Linked DNA regions of Homo sapiens: region 1 is linked to region 2. Evidence: promoter capture Hi-C in 16 types of primary human blood cells and fetal thymus (Javierre and others, 2016). All regions are on one chromosome and are shown on one strand. Each heading gives the region's core, a stretch centred on a gene start or on the middle of the fragment in contact. The rest is flanking DNA. Distances are from core to core; before and after follow the strand shown. Region 1 holds the start of ATP6V1B2 (ATPase H+ transporting V1 subunit B2). Region 2 holds the start of BNIP3L (BCL2 interacting protein 3 like).

Region 1 (7,140 bases), core at 4,512-7,011, 6.2 Mb before region 2:
CAGTAAGCCGTGATTACGCCACTGCACTCCAGTCTGGGCGACAGAATGAGACTCCCTCTCAAAAGAAGAAGAAGAAGAAGAAGAAGAATCCATTCCATTGCTCCGGCCTCCAGCCTGGGCTGTCATCCTACACTAGTCCCACCCCTTACACAGCTTCCAAATCTGCCCCTATTTTTCACACCGCTACGCACATCCTATAACAAGCCAATATATGTTTGTCGAATGGATACATGCGTGAACGAATTGGGTAGGGAGTAAAGTGAACTAAATGATGCCACATGTGTTAATAATCACTGAAACATGTTTTCCATTGCTTCTGTTTTTCAAAGCGGTTTTCACAGCTTGAGTTCTCTCCATTCAGCGTCACGAAAGCCCATTCGAAATGGATATCAGCTGACGTTGGCCTGCACGCGTTTGCCTTCCTCCCCTCACTCCGCTTGTGCGCCTCTCTTTCGGCTGGCTTTCCTCTCTCCTTCCATCTCCCCTCTTTCGCTTCCCTTCCCTCTGCGCCCGCGCGCGCCTCCCAGCACGCTGGTCAGCTCCTCTTGCTCGCAAGCAGGTCTGGCCCCAGCGGCGCGAAGTCACGAGGCTGGGGGCGGCCGGCGGCGAAGGGGGCGGGGCGAGGCCGGGGCGCCGCAGCGCGCATAGGCGGAGCCTCGGGCCGCGGGCCGCCTTGGTATATCTGCGCGTGCGCGGCGTCGCTGCTGGGCCAGTCGGGACAGAGGAGACAAGATGGCGCTGCGGGCGATGCGGGGGATTGTCAACGGGGCCGCACCCGAGCTACCCGTGCCCACCGGTGGGCCGGCGGTGGGAGCTCGGGAGCAGGCGCTGGCAGTCAGTCGGAACTACCTCTCCCAGCCTCGCCTCAGTGAGTATCAGAGAGTAATACGTCTCCGGTCTTTGCTCCCTAGCCTAGCCCTTTGCTCCCAGTCACCTGCTTAGCCAGCGGGTAGGGGGTAGGATTTGTTTTTCCCTCCCGCGTCTCCCCTCCGACCCTGACCCACTTGTCTCTTTAGAAGGAGATTTGCCTGTACCTAATATTTCCAGGAGATGGGCTGAGGGCAAGAGCACCAGCGGGAACTTTTTCCTGGGGTTGGTGGGCTCCTGGCTGTTGCCCTACCCCCTCCCCTCCCCAGCTTCCCTAGGCTGGAGCCTTCTTAGGCACTTGCTTCCCGTCCCCGAGGGCCACTTCTTGCCACTCCGATCTTAATCTTCCCCTGACTTCATTTGGATATCTAGGGGTCGAGGGAACGCCCCTTCTCCCCTCCCCCTGGTGAGGACCTCAATGGGGTCTTCAACTCCTGCGGAGGGCAGACGGTAGAGCCTTCGCTGACGTGGTCAGGCCTTTCGTGGATGGAGGTCAGGCCAGTAGCCAGAGGGAGATGTGGCTTGGTGTTTGGTGGAGGGGCTGCTCCGCAGAAGGACACCTAGATATCAGAGAACGCTAGAGCTGAAAAGTACCTTGCAGGTCATCCAGTCCAACCCTATCATTTTACAGGTGAGAAGCCTAAGGTTCTGGAAGGGGTAGGATTTGCCATGCTTCAGACACTTAATTATTGGCAGAGCAGGGACTAAAAATCCAGGTTCTTAAATTCTCGCTGGGCCTTTTTCTACCGTTGCCTCTTCATTTACTGACCAGTTAACCAAACTTGGTTGAGTGCAGGGTTCTTTGGGGAAGCCAGGTGGCTTTGCCCATAGGTGGTGTGTGTGCATAGGCTTGTTTAAATGTTGTGATTTTTTAAATAAAAAGGCCTTAATGAACTAGGTTTAAGTGGATAGCTCAGCAATTCCAAAAGAAATGGTTCTTGATTACTAGAGAATGCAGTTGTGTAGCATCCAACTTCTTCACAGCTTTCTTCGGAACTGGCAATGAGCCCTCGAAATAGACTTTTTAAAAAACTGGGAAAAGCACATGATGTTTCCCCAGGTGGTGAGACTGCATTTTCACTGGTTAATTGCCAGAGTGTCTGTCTCTAGGTGGCCGACTGATTAAAAAGGATTTCAGATGAAGGGTGTTAGTCTGGGCGATCTGAAGCCTGACTAATCCACATCCTGATCTGTCACTGGGTCATGTGATAGCACTGCAGTGTGAAGAAAAAGGAAAACATTTGATTCGGTGGATTGCTGAGATGTGCCTTTTACAGTAACTGGGAATTGTTCGAATTAGAAAATGTATGTTGGGACTTATCTGAGCTGAAGTAGCTACTTCAGGAAATCGGCAGATGTTGCATTCTTATGCAAACCTTGGCAATAAATTTATACCTACGAATTACAAATTCTCTTTTATTAATTGCGTTTGTATGCATTGCCTTTCTTTGGGTAGAACAGATAGACATTAGTGGTGCCTCTCAAAAAAGGTTATAAAGGTGCAGTAGTCAGTTTCCATATAATTAATCATTCAGTGTCAATTCAGAGAATATCAACTGAAATAACGTTGTTTAAAGAGTACTCCATGATTAAGATTGTAAACCTTTAAGAGAGATGAATATGATTTCTCCATGGTTTGTACGTACTTACCCAGTTGCTGAGGGATTTTTCCAGACGTTATTCTTGACAAAACTGTTGTAGCATAGGGCTTCACACTCAACTGTTAGATGTCAGGGATCCTTTTTATGTCCCCACTGCCTAGCACAGTGCCTGACACATAGAATGTGTCTTGTAATTGTGTAACTTGCATTTAAACTCCTTGCTCGAATAATTCAGTGGATAGATTGTGAACATGGGTGGAATCAGAGCAGGGAGTTGAAATGCCCGGTCGAGTTGAGTTTCACTTATATATCCGTGTTATTCTAAAAAGCATAAATGATATCATACTTAGGCTAACAACTAACAGCATTTGAATATCTTCTTATTTTGCCATATTTTTTATTCTACTCAAAAGTTTTAATTGCTTCTGAGTAAATATTGATTAACCTCTTAATTTTTGTGGGTTTTTTTTTTTTTTTTTTTTTTGAGATGGAGTCTCGCTCTGTCACCCAGGCTGGAGTGCAGAGTGGCGCGATCTAGGCTCGCTGCAACCTCCGCCTTCCAGATTCGAGCAATTCTCCTGCGTCAGCCTTTCGAGTAGCTGGGACTACGGGCGCACGCCGCCATGCCCGGCTAATTTTTTGTATTTTAGTAGAGACGGGATTTCACCGTGTTTCCCAGGCTGGTGGCGAACTCCTGAGCTCAGGCAATCCGCCTACCTAGGCCTCCCAAAGTGCTGGGATAACAGGCATGAGCCACCACGCCCAGCCAACCTCTTAATTTTTGTAAATTGATTGTAATTTTTTGTGAATTGATTGATGTTATCATTTAAGGGGACATGTAATTATAGTTATTGTGTGTGTGTGTGTGTGTGTGTGTTGAGACAGGGTCTCACTCTGTTGCCTAGGCTGGAGTGCAGTGGTGTGAGCTCAGGTCACTGCAACCTCCACATCTCAGGCTCAAGCGATCCTCCCACCTCAGCCTCTCAAGTATCTGGGACTACAGACGGACACCACTACGTCCAGCTAATTTTTTTTAATTTTTATTTTTTATTTTTGGTAGAGATGGGATTTCCCCATGTTGCCCAGGCTGGTCTACAACTCCTGAGCTCAAGAGATCCGCCCGCCATGGCCTCTCAAAGTGCTGGGATTACAGGTGTGAGCTGCTGTGCCCAGCCTAAAGCTTCACACTGAACCTTTAGAAGTCAGAGATCCTTTTTGTGTCCCCACTGCCTAGCACAGTGCCTGACACATAGAATGTGCCTTGTAATTGTGTAACTTGCATTTAAACTCAAAAAGCTTTGTTTTTTGAATGAAGAAATGGAGTAATGTTGACAGTTCCACTGTACAAATTAGATCCTTTTAAAAAATAGCTTCAAGATTATAGGACTTTTAAAAGAAATGGAAAACATATTCAGGCTTGAAATTAGGAAATTATCTTGAGCATTTTAGTTGAATTTCTGAAGTCACAAGGAATGAAAACTTGATTTTCTCTTAAAAGAAAAGATTCAACAACATACATAGAGCTTTCGGGTGCTATGTATTTTGAATTTGGTCATCTCCATTTTTCTTGAGACCCTAGATCAACTGGCCTTAAGTTTCTTATATCATAAAGCAGAGCCAGCCCTGCAAAAAGTCAAAATAGGAATCTTCTCCTTGCTTTTTTCCTAGAACCTCTTCTTCAGGTGCTCACTGCTCATCATGCAGATCTCTACTCTTCTTGTACAAGGGAAGATGATTGCTCTGGGTTTTTGTTTTGCTAATAAGGCAGAGGCTAAAAGACTAGGACACTTATTATGCAATGGCTGTCAACTTTTTCTGAGTATTTCGTAATCATTAAATGGTGTTACTAGTGTTGAGCAATATCCTATCCTGCAGGAGGAAGAGGATGTCATCTGATAAAATATGTGCTCCTTAAAACCCGTGTAGATTTTGGGTTTTAGATGTTACTTCATAAATACTTGTCTGGCTCATATGATAGTTCAGAATCAAAGCCAAGACATTTTGGTTGTAAAATATGTTAAGAAGGTAATATAAGCATATATCTTCTGTGTTGTCAGAAGTTCTGATTATCCCCCATTCACACACCTACGGGCTCAAATTCTTTTTCATTTGGAGAGGAGTGGTCAATATGTAGGTAAATAGAAATATTTAGGTAATTTACAAATGGGTTTTTTCCTGTTTTGAAGGGCAACTTAATGTCTTTGACAGCCATAGTTTAAACTGGTATCTCTGTTTTGGGCTGTTAATGGTAATGGTGAGGAAGGCTGGATAAATCTAGAGATAAAAGGTAGTGTTTGTTATCATTCTGCTTGGTTTTCTTTGCAGATAGTTTTAGTACCATGGAGAAGAGCTGTAGTTTTATACAAATTGTCTTTTTGTCCCCACTTGTAGTCCAAGTGCTAGAAGCTGTATGATCTCCATACTTTTTAATTGTACTGAAGACTAAGGCCAGAAATATTATAAGGGTCATAGAGTACCAATCCTAAGATTAAAGAAAAACAAAACAGTTAGAAGCCTGGCTCCCCCATTTAAAAACAAACTTATCAGGGCCTTAGTTTCCTTAGGGTGCATCAGCCTTGCCTACTGTCTTAGCCATTTTCTGCTCCTTTTAACAGAAAACCTGAAACTGGGTAATTTATAAAGAAAGGGAATTTATTTCTTAAAGTTCTGGAGTCTGGGAAGGCCAAAGTGGAGGGGCCGCATCTGGTGAGAGCCTTCTTTCTGGTGGGACTTGAAAGAGTCCCAGGGTGGTTCAGGGCATCACATGGTGAGGGGGCTGAGAATGCAGGGGCACTAGCTCAGGTCTCTCTTCCTTTTGTAAAGCCACCAGTTACCTTCACATGATAATTCATTAACCCATGAATGGATTCATCCATTCATAAGAGCAGAGCCCTCATGACCCATTCCCCTCTTAGAGGCCTCACCTGTCAGTACTGCCACATTGGGGATGAAGTTTATTGCCTGGTGCGTTAAAAAGTAAAAACCTGTTTTGCATACCTAAAATTGCAGGCTTGTGAAATTGTTTTGGGTGGTATCGCTTCATAATTCTTACAAGATACCATACCACAAAAAATGAACCAGTTCAGTTTTAGAATTTGGGCTGTAGTAGAGTCAAAGAATAAGTGGCTTTGGAGCTAGAGTGTACACATTCAGATCCTTGGGCTGGTTGCTTGTGTCCTTGGGCAAGACACAATAATTTCTCTGAGAATAATTTTTCTCTTCTAAAACTTAGAATAATGATAGCTAACTCTGTCTGTTATGGAGATTAAATGAGAATTCCTGAAAAGTACTTATTAAATGTATGATAGTGTTATCAATTAACTTGCAAGGTTACTTACTAACTTTTTAAAAGGCTGGATACGTTGTTCCAAATTTAGAGACTTTTGATGAAGTAGAATCTTGTCTTCTGTAGTAGATGTCAATTTGAGTCACTGTTTCCAGGAAAAGCTATGACTAGTGTTTCTTTTTCTTGGTCATACTTTTGCTCGTGACTGGCAAAATTTCATAGTTTGGAATGAGCTTGAATTTTAAACATGAGATTCTAAAGCAGTATTGTTGTAGAAATCAGACCTATAAAGGAGATACAATCTTGTTGAAAAAATAAAGAGAATTTTAAGAACCTGGTGTATTTTACTGATGTTGCATTTTATTCAAAACAGTTAATCATAAATCTCAATACCATATCCCCTCCCTCACCCCAGCTGTTTGGTAAAGGTTTTGGAAAGGTCTACGTTTCTGCATTTCTGAAAACTGGTTTCAAGAAAACATATTTCTAATGTAGCTCACTTTCCATTTCCACATGGCAATTTTAGAAAGCCATTGTAAAAAAAATGCTGGGAGTCTTTAAAATGAGAACAATGAAGAAATCTTTTAAAGGGTTGGAATTATGTTTTTTAAGAGTATTCAATCATTTTAAAACAGTAGGGATGGTTTTCATAAAAGTGGCAGAAAATGTGGCAAATGGGGTCTTTCTAGTAATCTAGGGGAATGATTAATCCTTTCACATGACCATCCATCCAAGTAGCTTGCTTTTTATCTAAAGTGGGGAAAAAAAAATACAGTTCAGTTGGGGGGCCTCTATTGAGACAGTTGCAGTACAATTACTGATGTATTCAAGCAAATATGTGATGTCTGGATTTAAACGTCCTGTTAGCAGGAAAGATGGAAGCCCTGACAGTGCTGTCTGCTCTGTCCCAGCATTTTTACCAGGGCTCTGGCTTCCCCGCCTGAGGCTGAAGGAATTGTAATTTTAAATTCCAAAGCCACTTGAGTGGACAGACTGGTTAGTAAATGGTTTCCTCATGCTTGGGAGTCCACATCTGTGCCAGGAATCTCTGTGCAAGCTCATTATAAGACCTCAAAAGAAATCAAGCAAGTGAAAAATTCCCAGTTGCTAGACAGCTTCATGTTAATTATTTTAGGCCTTATAGTAAATTTTCTTCAAAACTTTAGTTCATGTATTTTTTTTCAGTTGTTCTGCTTATGAAATTTAGTGAATTTTGTAGGTGTCTGGTAGAATTACTCTCCCCTGAGTGTTCTTATACCTGATCCCCATTTCACTTGCCATGCAGGTGTGATAGGTGAGGGCTTTGGGTAGGACCTGCTGGGGTAGAATTAGCTGTTTATTCCTAGGGCGCACTTTGCAGTGGAAAACAACAGTCTCTAACCTGGC
Region 2 (7,441 bases), core at 2,358-4,857:
AGGAACGCTTATTTTCTGACCAGACATTCTGGCTATACCACATCATCATAAAGTTCTTCTGTTTTTTCTTCTCTTTACTTTTTGAACTGGAAAATGGATTCACTTTGGTTTTCTTCCTCACAAATTCTTTTCGGTCTGTCTTTCCAGCCATTGCAGTTGCTAGTCTTGTCTCTTTGTCAGATTTTGGCTTTTTATGAAGGCGTTCAATGTCCGGAAGAGAAAGTAATTCACCCCTCGGCTCTTCATCACTGTCGATTTCAATATATTTCCTCTTCTGGGATTTCCCGGGGACAGCGTCAAGTTCTTTTCTCATTTGCGCCATGCGGATTTTCTGGAAGTCTTCCTAACTTAAAACTCGACTGGTGCTGACGGCTGCAGTTTTGGCTTTCTGCTCCTCCATGGGCATGGTGTTCAGCTTCTTGGAAATTTCTTGCTGTTCTTCATTGGAAGAGTGTTGCACATCAACCCATTCGCCATCGGCATCCTCCTCCTCACTGAGACTGGTACTTTCCCATCCATCTTCATCATTTTCAGCACTCTCCTCTTTCTCAACTTCCAGAACTTCTGCTCCTGGAATGTAACCTTTAGCATCTAATTCTCCATATTCTTGTACTCTTGCTTCTATGGAGGCTTCTGTAGGCTTACCCCAGAATTTCTTCTGCAGCATCTGAGGATTCAGTGTTCGGAAGAGCCGAATCAAAGTTCTAGCAGACATCATTACATTATTATCCTTGTGTGTTTTATACTGAGCCAGGTCTTGGAGAAGCTTTTCAGTCATGGCCAGAGGACACTGAGCTGTTGTCTCTTTTACAGCATTGATTCCTATTGTCATGGCTTCTCCAGAGTTCTTGTCGTTAACAAAATTGTTGGCCACAGTCATAAGCAATGATTGAATAATCGCTGGGTGTACTAGGTGATGAGATGCTTGTGCAGCAAACAGAAGGTTCTTTGTTACTTCTCTTTGGTGGGGCTGCAGAAACCTTCGCAAAAAGTGATAGAAATTGAAGAGGAAGAGCTTATGAATTCCCACCAATCTGAGATGAGGTTCATGAGCATCATCTTCACTTCCAACCTCTCCTTACAGCACTCAAGCTGCTTTAGTAGTTTTTCTGCAAAATCTTGGGGATCATGAATCAAGTGAACGGCTAAAAAGTTAAACACCTCTGGTTTTTTCTTCTTCTTTTGTTTCTTGAGCACTTTCATTGCCTTTTCCAACTTTTTCTTGTTTTGGGAACTTTGTTCCCTGTAGCATACTGTGCTAGCAGGTCTCTTGCTGTTGGTCCGTCATCCTCAGATTCGGAGTCACTGGCCTGTTTTTCATCTTCATCTTTTCCAAGAAAGAATGTCAAAGCAGCAACTAATATCTTGGTGACCTAAGAGAAACATGCAGTTGTGATAACATTGACAGTTTTGGTATCATTCCAGATGTTCCTTCTGTAGAGTTCAATCATAACATCTAAAGACATCTTGGCTGCAGTTGCATTGCTATCTCTCAACATGGTATACATGAAATTTTACAATACTACATCCACTTTATTCTTGTGTTTTGCATTTATATTCTTGATATCAGTCACGATATATGTGTATGAAGTCTTTTGCAGAAGCTTATCATGGCAACAGAGAAGTTCAAAGAAGAGTTCTAGCAGGCTTGATGGATTGATGAGATTCTTATTTCTCAGCAAGATCAAAGCTTTGCAAAATGTCATTCGAAGATCTGGATCCAATACAGTATGATTACAGGACAGAAGATCTTTCACCACTTGAGGAAAATTACTTAGATACCCTGGGTAGCAGTAACTAATCTATAACAAAGCAAAGGCTCTTCTGAAGTTTCTCTCTTTCTCTCCTATTATTCAGATGCACATATTTAGGACGTTCTGTGCCATAAACACCACCAGCTCTGCTAGTTCTTTACCGGGTTTATATGGTTGCAATTTGAAAATCTCCACATTGGATGTGTAGTGATTATACTGCTGTAGAAACTCCTAGATGGAGGGTGGTGGGTCTCGCTTCATCAGATTCTGTAACTGCAGTCAGGTTGCTGGGCAGCTTGTTGTTGTTTCTGCTGGACATTCTGGCTGAAGACTGGCTTCGCGGCGAGCAGTTTTAATAAAACTCAGATGGCCAGCAGCCGCCAATCCCTACCAGCTGCGGCTTGAACTCCTGCTTCCGGGTATGACCGGAAACAGCACTCAATCTATTAATAGAGTTCATTTCTGACCAAAATCTTAAAAGAATTTGCAAAGGGATTTGACAAATCAATCCTTAAAAAAAACCTTTTAGCATGGACTTTTTCAAATATATTAAAAAATTAGAGGAATACTTTAATGTATTACATAGCTTCAATAATTACCAACACAAGGTCAATCTTGGACAAGTCCATTTTTAAGTTCATCTGAAGAGTAACTAGCCATTAACATCTGAAAAAGACAAAGGAAGAGAAACTTTAATAGTTATCTAACAGAGGTATTGCAGATAGCCCTGAAACAGACTCACATTTTTGTGGTCATTCAGAGAGTGACAAAGGTGCAATTTCAAATCAGTGTAGAAAGGATGGCTTAAAATTAATATTATTAGGTCAATGGGCTACAAAATTGGGAAGAATTGAAGTTAAATAATTTACAGCATATGGAAAATAAATTTCAGATGGATTAGAGCTCTAAATGTAAAGTTAAGCCTATAAGAAAATTAGAAAAAGTTATAAGGGAATTATAGATTAGTAATCTTGGTGTGACTGTCTCCCCAAGCCATGTAAGAATGATAAATCTGATTACATGAAAACCTTAAGCTTCTACAGAGTGAAAAAAACAAATTAAAAGACAAGTTAGAGACTGCGAGAAACATATGTCACTCATAAATCAGACCAAGGAGACTGGACGAAGACATGGAGATGTGAAGTAGGAGGTGTGCTCAGGAACATAGTTTAATGTCATCCACGTACAGGATAAACGGCTTCCCACGTCATGTCCCAGAAATCGATTAGTCGATGGGATTTGGGTGAGTACTTTCTTCTCTCTGTTTTCCTGAATTTTTCTTTTTTCTTTCTTCCCCTTTCTTCTTTCTCTTTTTTTCAGAATGATGGTGTGTTTGTAATCGACATTTTAAAAATTCTGTAACAATTAAATTTGGGGGCGGCCTTCCCTTGTTTCCCGTATGGAGTGTTGATGTTTCAGCAGCTTTATTTGGAGTTTACACGTGGAGGCACCTGGGTTTGGGGATTCCTTTGTGTCCCCAAGACACCTATTGCAGAAGTGAGTCCTAAGAGGTAGAAAACAGATGCGTGCGCAGGGCTGGGTGAAGCACTGTGGAGCCTGTGTGAGAGGAGGCACGGGCGCGAACACAGGAGCGCACTTCCTCATTCCGTTTCTCCTCATCCTCTCTCCCACTGCCACTGGCATCACTCATCCCATCCGGTCATCCCAAGTCACACGCAAGAGTTCGTTCCCGGCGCGCGCGTCAGCCTGACTCGAGCGTCTCCACGTCCGGGGCCCGCAGGGGAGCGCCCCTGCCCCGTCCGGTCGCTTGTTGTGTTGTCATCACGTGGCCTGGGCGGGCCCTGACGTCAGGGGCAGGGGAGGGACGGCGCAGGCGCAGAAAAGGGGGCGGCGGACTCGGCTTGTTGTGTTGCTGCCTGAGTGCCGGAGACGGTCCTGCTGCTGCCGCAGTCCTGCCAGCTGTCCGACAATGTCGTCCCACCTAGTCGAGCCGCCGCCGCCCCTGCACAACAACAACAACAACTGCGAGGAAAATGAGCAGTCTCTGCCCCCGCCGGCCGGCCTCAACAGTGAGTGCGGGGCCGAGGCTCTGTGAAGGGGATGGGGGAGGAGGAGCAGCCCCGGCCGCCGCCACCGGCGCGGCGCGGGAGGCGGGAGGAGAAGGCAGCTCATTGGCTCAGGCATGGGATGTCCAGGTGACTGACAGCTCCCGTCCCCTGTCAAGAGGAGGGGCGCCTGCCTTGCTCCGGGCCTCTCTGTTGCCTCCTGGGGTCTTGGGCCCGGGGCCGTTTGGGCTCGCGGTCCGGGAGCGGCGCGGGTAGCGCGGATCCCCCTGGTGCGGGGGGTGGTCCCCAGCAGCGGAGCCGGGCGGGGCGGGGCGGGGGCGGGCCTGGGGGGCGGGGAGGCCGGGTGGGCGGAGCGGGCCGCGGAGGGGACGTGGGCCGGGATGGGGACGTGCGGCGGGGACGCCGGGGGATGGACGCGCGGGAGCGGGGCGGGGCGGGCGGCTGCCGCGGGACGTGTCGGGGATCAGGTGTGCGGGGCTCGCGGGCGGGCAGCGTCTGGCGGGCGCGGGAGCCCCCCAGCGAGCATTCCTTTGTTGCCACACGTTTGTCAGGAAAATTCATTTGCTCGTCTAGGGTTGGCTTCAGTCACGTGTGGGGTGAGAGGCTGTGCCTTGCTTCTCCTTTTTCCTTTTTTATTTTTTTATTAGATTTCTCGAAGTTGCCCAAGTGATTTTTTTTTTTTTAAAGCGATGGGTTGTGCGCCCAGTAAAGCTGAGAGCAGCCTCCTGAACCACCCAAGATTGCACACGTCAGGGAGTCTGGGGCCATGCATTTAAAGAAACGGAATTAAAAACGCACTCGGGCAGTTGAAAGTTAACGGACGAGGCTGATAGACAACCCAGGCCAGGGTCTTTTCATAACATTCCGCTGCCCAGACATCTTGTCCTCAGATTGTTCCTAGTCGTGAGAACCGGGAGCCTTCTTGGAAGGGTTCTTGCCTAACCTTTCTTTAATTCAACTCTTGGGAAAGAGGTAATGGGAGCAGTGAGCATATGGCCAGATGAAGTCTTTTCAAAACCACTTGGATGCTTAAAGGTCATGCAGTATCTTTCGTAAGAGGGAGGTGCTTCCAGTGTGGCCTGAAGATTATTTTAGGGAAGAGAGTTTCAGCCCTCACCAGGTAGCGATGGAGTTTGGAGATTTTAAGATGGATGCTGCTGCTCCAGGTTTTGATGGGTTAATTCCCAAAACCTTTAAGTGTCATATATTCCAGAATGTAAGATGGTTATATTATTTCCCACAGTAAATTAGGATGAATGTATGAGTCTTTAAACGTTACTTGTATCACATATTCCTATGCAATTTTAAGTTATTTGCCCATGTTTAGCATACTGTCTTAGATTTTAGAATGGGAAGAAACTTCAGAGCTAGCTAACTGCCTCCTGTTGTTTGCCTGTAGAGAAACAGGTCTAGAGTAAATGGCCTTGTCCAAGTTCACAACCGGCTGGGAGCAAAGCAGAGGTTCTCATGTTCAGCCTGTCTACTGCTCTTTTGAGGACATTTTTTTTTTTTTTTTTTTTTTTTTGAGGTAGAGTCTCGCTCTGTCTACAACCTCCGCCTCCCAGGTTCAAGCGATTCTTCTGCCTCAGCCTCCCGAGTAGCTGGGACTACAGGTGCCTGCCACCCGCCCAGCTAATTTTTGTATTTTTAGTAGAGACGAAGTTTCGCCATGTAGCTGGGATTACAGGCGCCCGACACCAAGCTAGGCTAATTTTTGTATTTTCAGTAGAGAGGGGGTTGTTGGTCTCTCACCATGTTGGCCAGGCTGGTCTCAAACTCCTGACCTCACGTCATCCGCCCGCCTGGGCCTCCCAAAGTGCTGGGATTACAGGCTTGAGCCATCGCACCGGCTTCTTTTCAGTGGTGCAGAACCTCCTGCTGGTGTGTGTGTCTTATTTTGTCAGTGTGTTATTCTACCTAATTGACAAAGGTGGCCAACCTTTCTGTTTCTTTTTAGTATTGTTTCTTAATTGTACAGTTTTCTTATGAGTGAAGATACTTGGTAGGTGTACGTGATTTCACTGAAAGCAAAGGGATTTTCATCTTCCTTTGACCCTTTAACAACAACAACAAAAAGGGCTGAGCCAGGCAGGGCACGATGGCTCACACCTGTCATCCTAGCACTTTGGGAGGCCAAAGCGAGTGGATCACTTGAGGTCAGGAGTTCGAGACCAGCCTGGCCAACATGGTGAGAGAACAACCCCCTCTCTACTGAAAATACAAAAATTAGCCTGGCTTGGTGTTGGGCGCCTGTAATCCCAGCTATTCAGGCGGCTGAGGCAGGAGAATCGCTTGAATCCGGGAGGCAGAGGTTGCAGTGAGCCGAGATCACGCCACTGCACTCCAGCCTGGGTGACAGAGCAAGACTCTGTCTCAAAAAAAAAAAGGGGCGAGGGCGGGGGCTGAGCCATATGTCATTGTTTATCTTGGTGTCTGACAGACCTATGAGGAGTTTGATGTCTTTGGCCAGTCGGTTCCTGCTTGGCTGACATCAGCTCTTACAGAGGTGGAAGTACACTCAGCCTGCATGGGACATCAAAATGTTGCTTTGGGACATCTGCTAGATAGAAAGTATTTTGTGTGGGATAGGGTGAGCTTTCTGAAAAGCTTTTAGATATTGCCATATTTAATTACTCCCTTCTTGCCTCTCACTCTGTTCGTTTTTTTAGCTCATTACACAACACTGTACTGAACAAAACAAGAAGCCTCATTGAATTCCTTGAAGTGATTTTTGGGCAATGGGCAAAACAACTTATTCAGGCATCTAGTACTATCCAAATTGCTGATAAGTCGAAGGACTTTGTTGGGTAAAGTTGCACAACTGAAAAACAGGAGAAGAAATGTACAGATTATCTTGCGTTTGGGATTTTATCTTTGGTTCAGGGGTCAAAGCAGGGTTTCAATAGCAAATTACTGAAGTATTTGAATAGTGAAGTATTTTTGTGATTTTTTTTTAACTTTACCGCTGTGGAGAGACTGTTCACTTTCATTAAAAATTACAGGGCAAATACCCAAACTCCTTCCAAGTCAAAAGGATGTTGTCCAGTTTGTTTTATTGTTAAGAAAACTATCAACTTCCTTAAGAATGTTTGAATAAGATTCAATAGGGCCGAATAAGGAAAATCAAAGTAGTAGTGTAAATCGTAGTATAATTCTTGTTGTTGAGAAGTATAGCCTTTTTTTTCTTTTCAAATTTTCTTGTTCTTTTTTGTTTTTTGTTTTGTTGAGACAGGGTCTTGCTTTGTCACCCAAACTGGAGTGCAGTGGTACAGTCATAGCTCATGGCAGCTTAGACCTCCTGGGCTCAAGTGATCCTCCTGCCTCAGCCTCCCAAGTAGCTAGGACTGCAGGTGTGCACCCCCACATCCAGCTAATTATTTTATTTCTTGTAGAGTTCGAGTTTCACTTTGTCACCCAGGCTGGTCACCGGCTAACTTATTTTTTGTAGAGATGGAGTTTTGCTTTGTTGCCCAAGCTGGTCACAAACTCTTTTTTTTAAATAGAAACATCTTCAAGCACAATGTCCTTGCTTTCTTGTTATGAAGAGTGCTCTTAAGGCCTTCATGGATTGTCACTGCCTCATAATAATGTTTTGAATACCTACGTAACTTGTATGTAAATACATACTGCTGCAAAAAGACCAACTTTTCAAAAATTTAT

The links. The method cuts DNA at HindIII sites, captures the fragments that hold promoters and counts their contacts. A CHiCAGO score of 5 or more calls a contact.
Region 1: a fragment that was not itself captured here is called in contact with the fragment with the promoter of BNIP3L in region 2 in 1 of 17 cell types (neutrophils); the score reaches 5.0 in neutrophils.

What each region holds. Positions count from the first base shown.
Region 1 is chr8:20,196,675-20,203,814 of GRCh38, forward strand. ATP6V1B2 (ATPase H+ transporting V1 subunit B2) reads left to right here and starts at 707. Exons shown (of 14, transcript NM_001693.4): 1 at 707-868. The coding sequence starts at 733. RefSeq lists a silencer at 481-760. The HindIII fragment of the contact is 3,998 bases long and covers 3,763-7,140 here.
Region 2 is chr8:26,379,447-26,386,887 of GRCh38, forward strand. BNIP3L (BCL2 interacting protein 3 like) reads left to right here and starts at 3,608. Exons shown (of 6, transcript NM_004331.3): 1 at 3,608-3,784. The coding sequence starts at 3,685. It also overlaps the pseudogene SDAD1P1. RefSeq lists enhancers at 2,085-3,284, 3,258-3,557 and silencers at 3,768-4,357, 6,107-6,401. The HindIII fragment of the contact is 3,600 bases long and covers 2,787-6,386 here.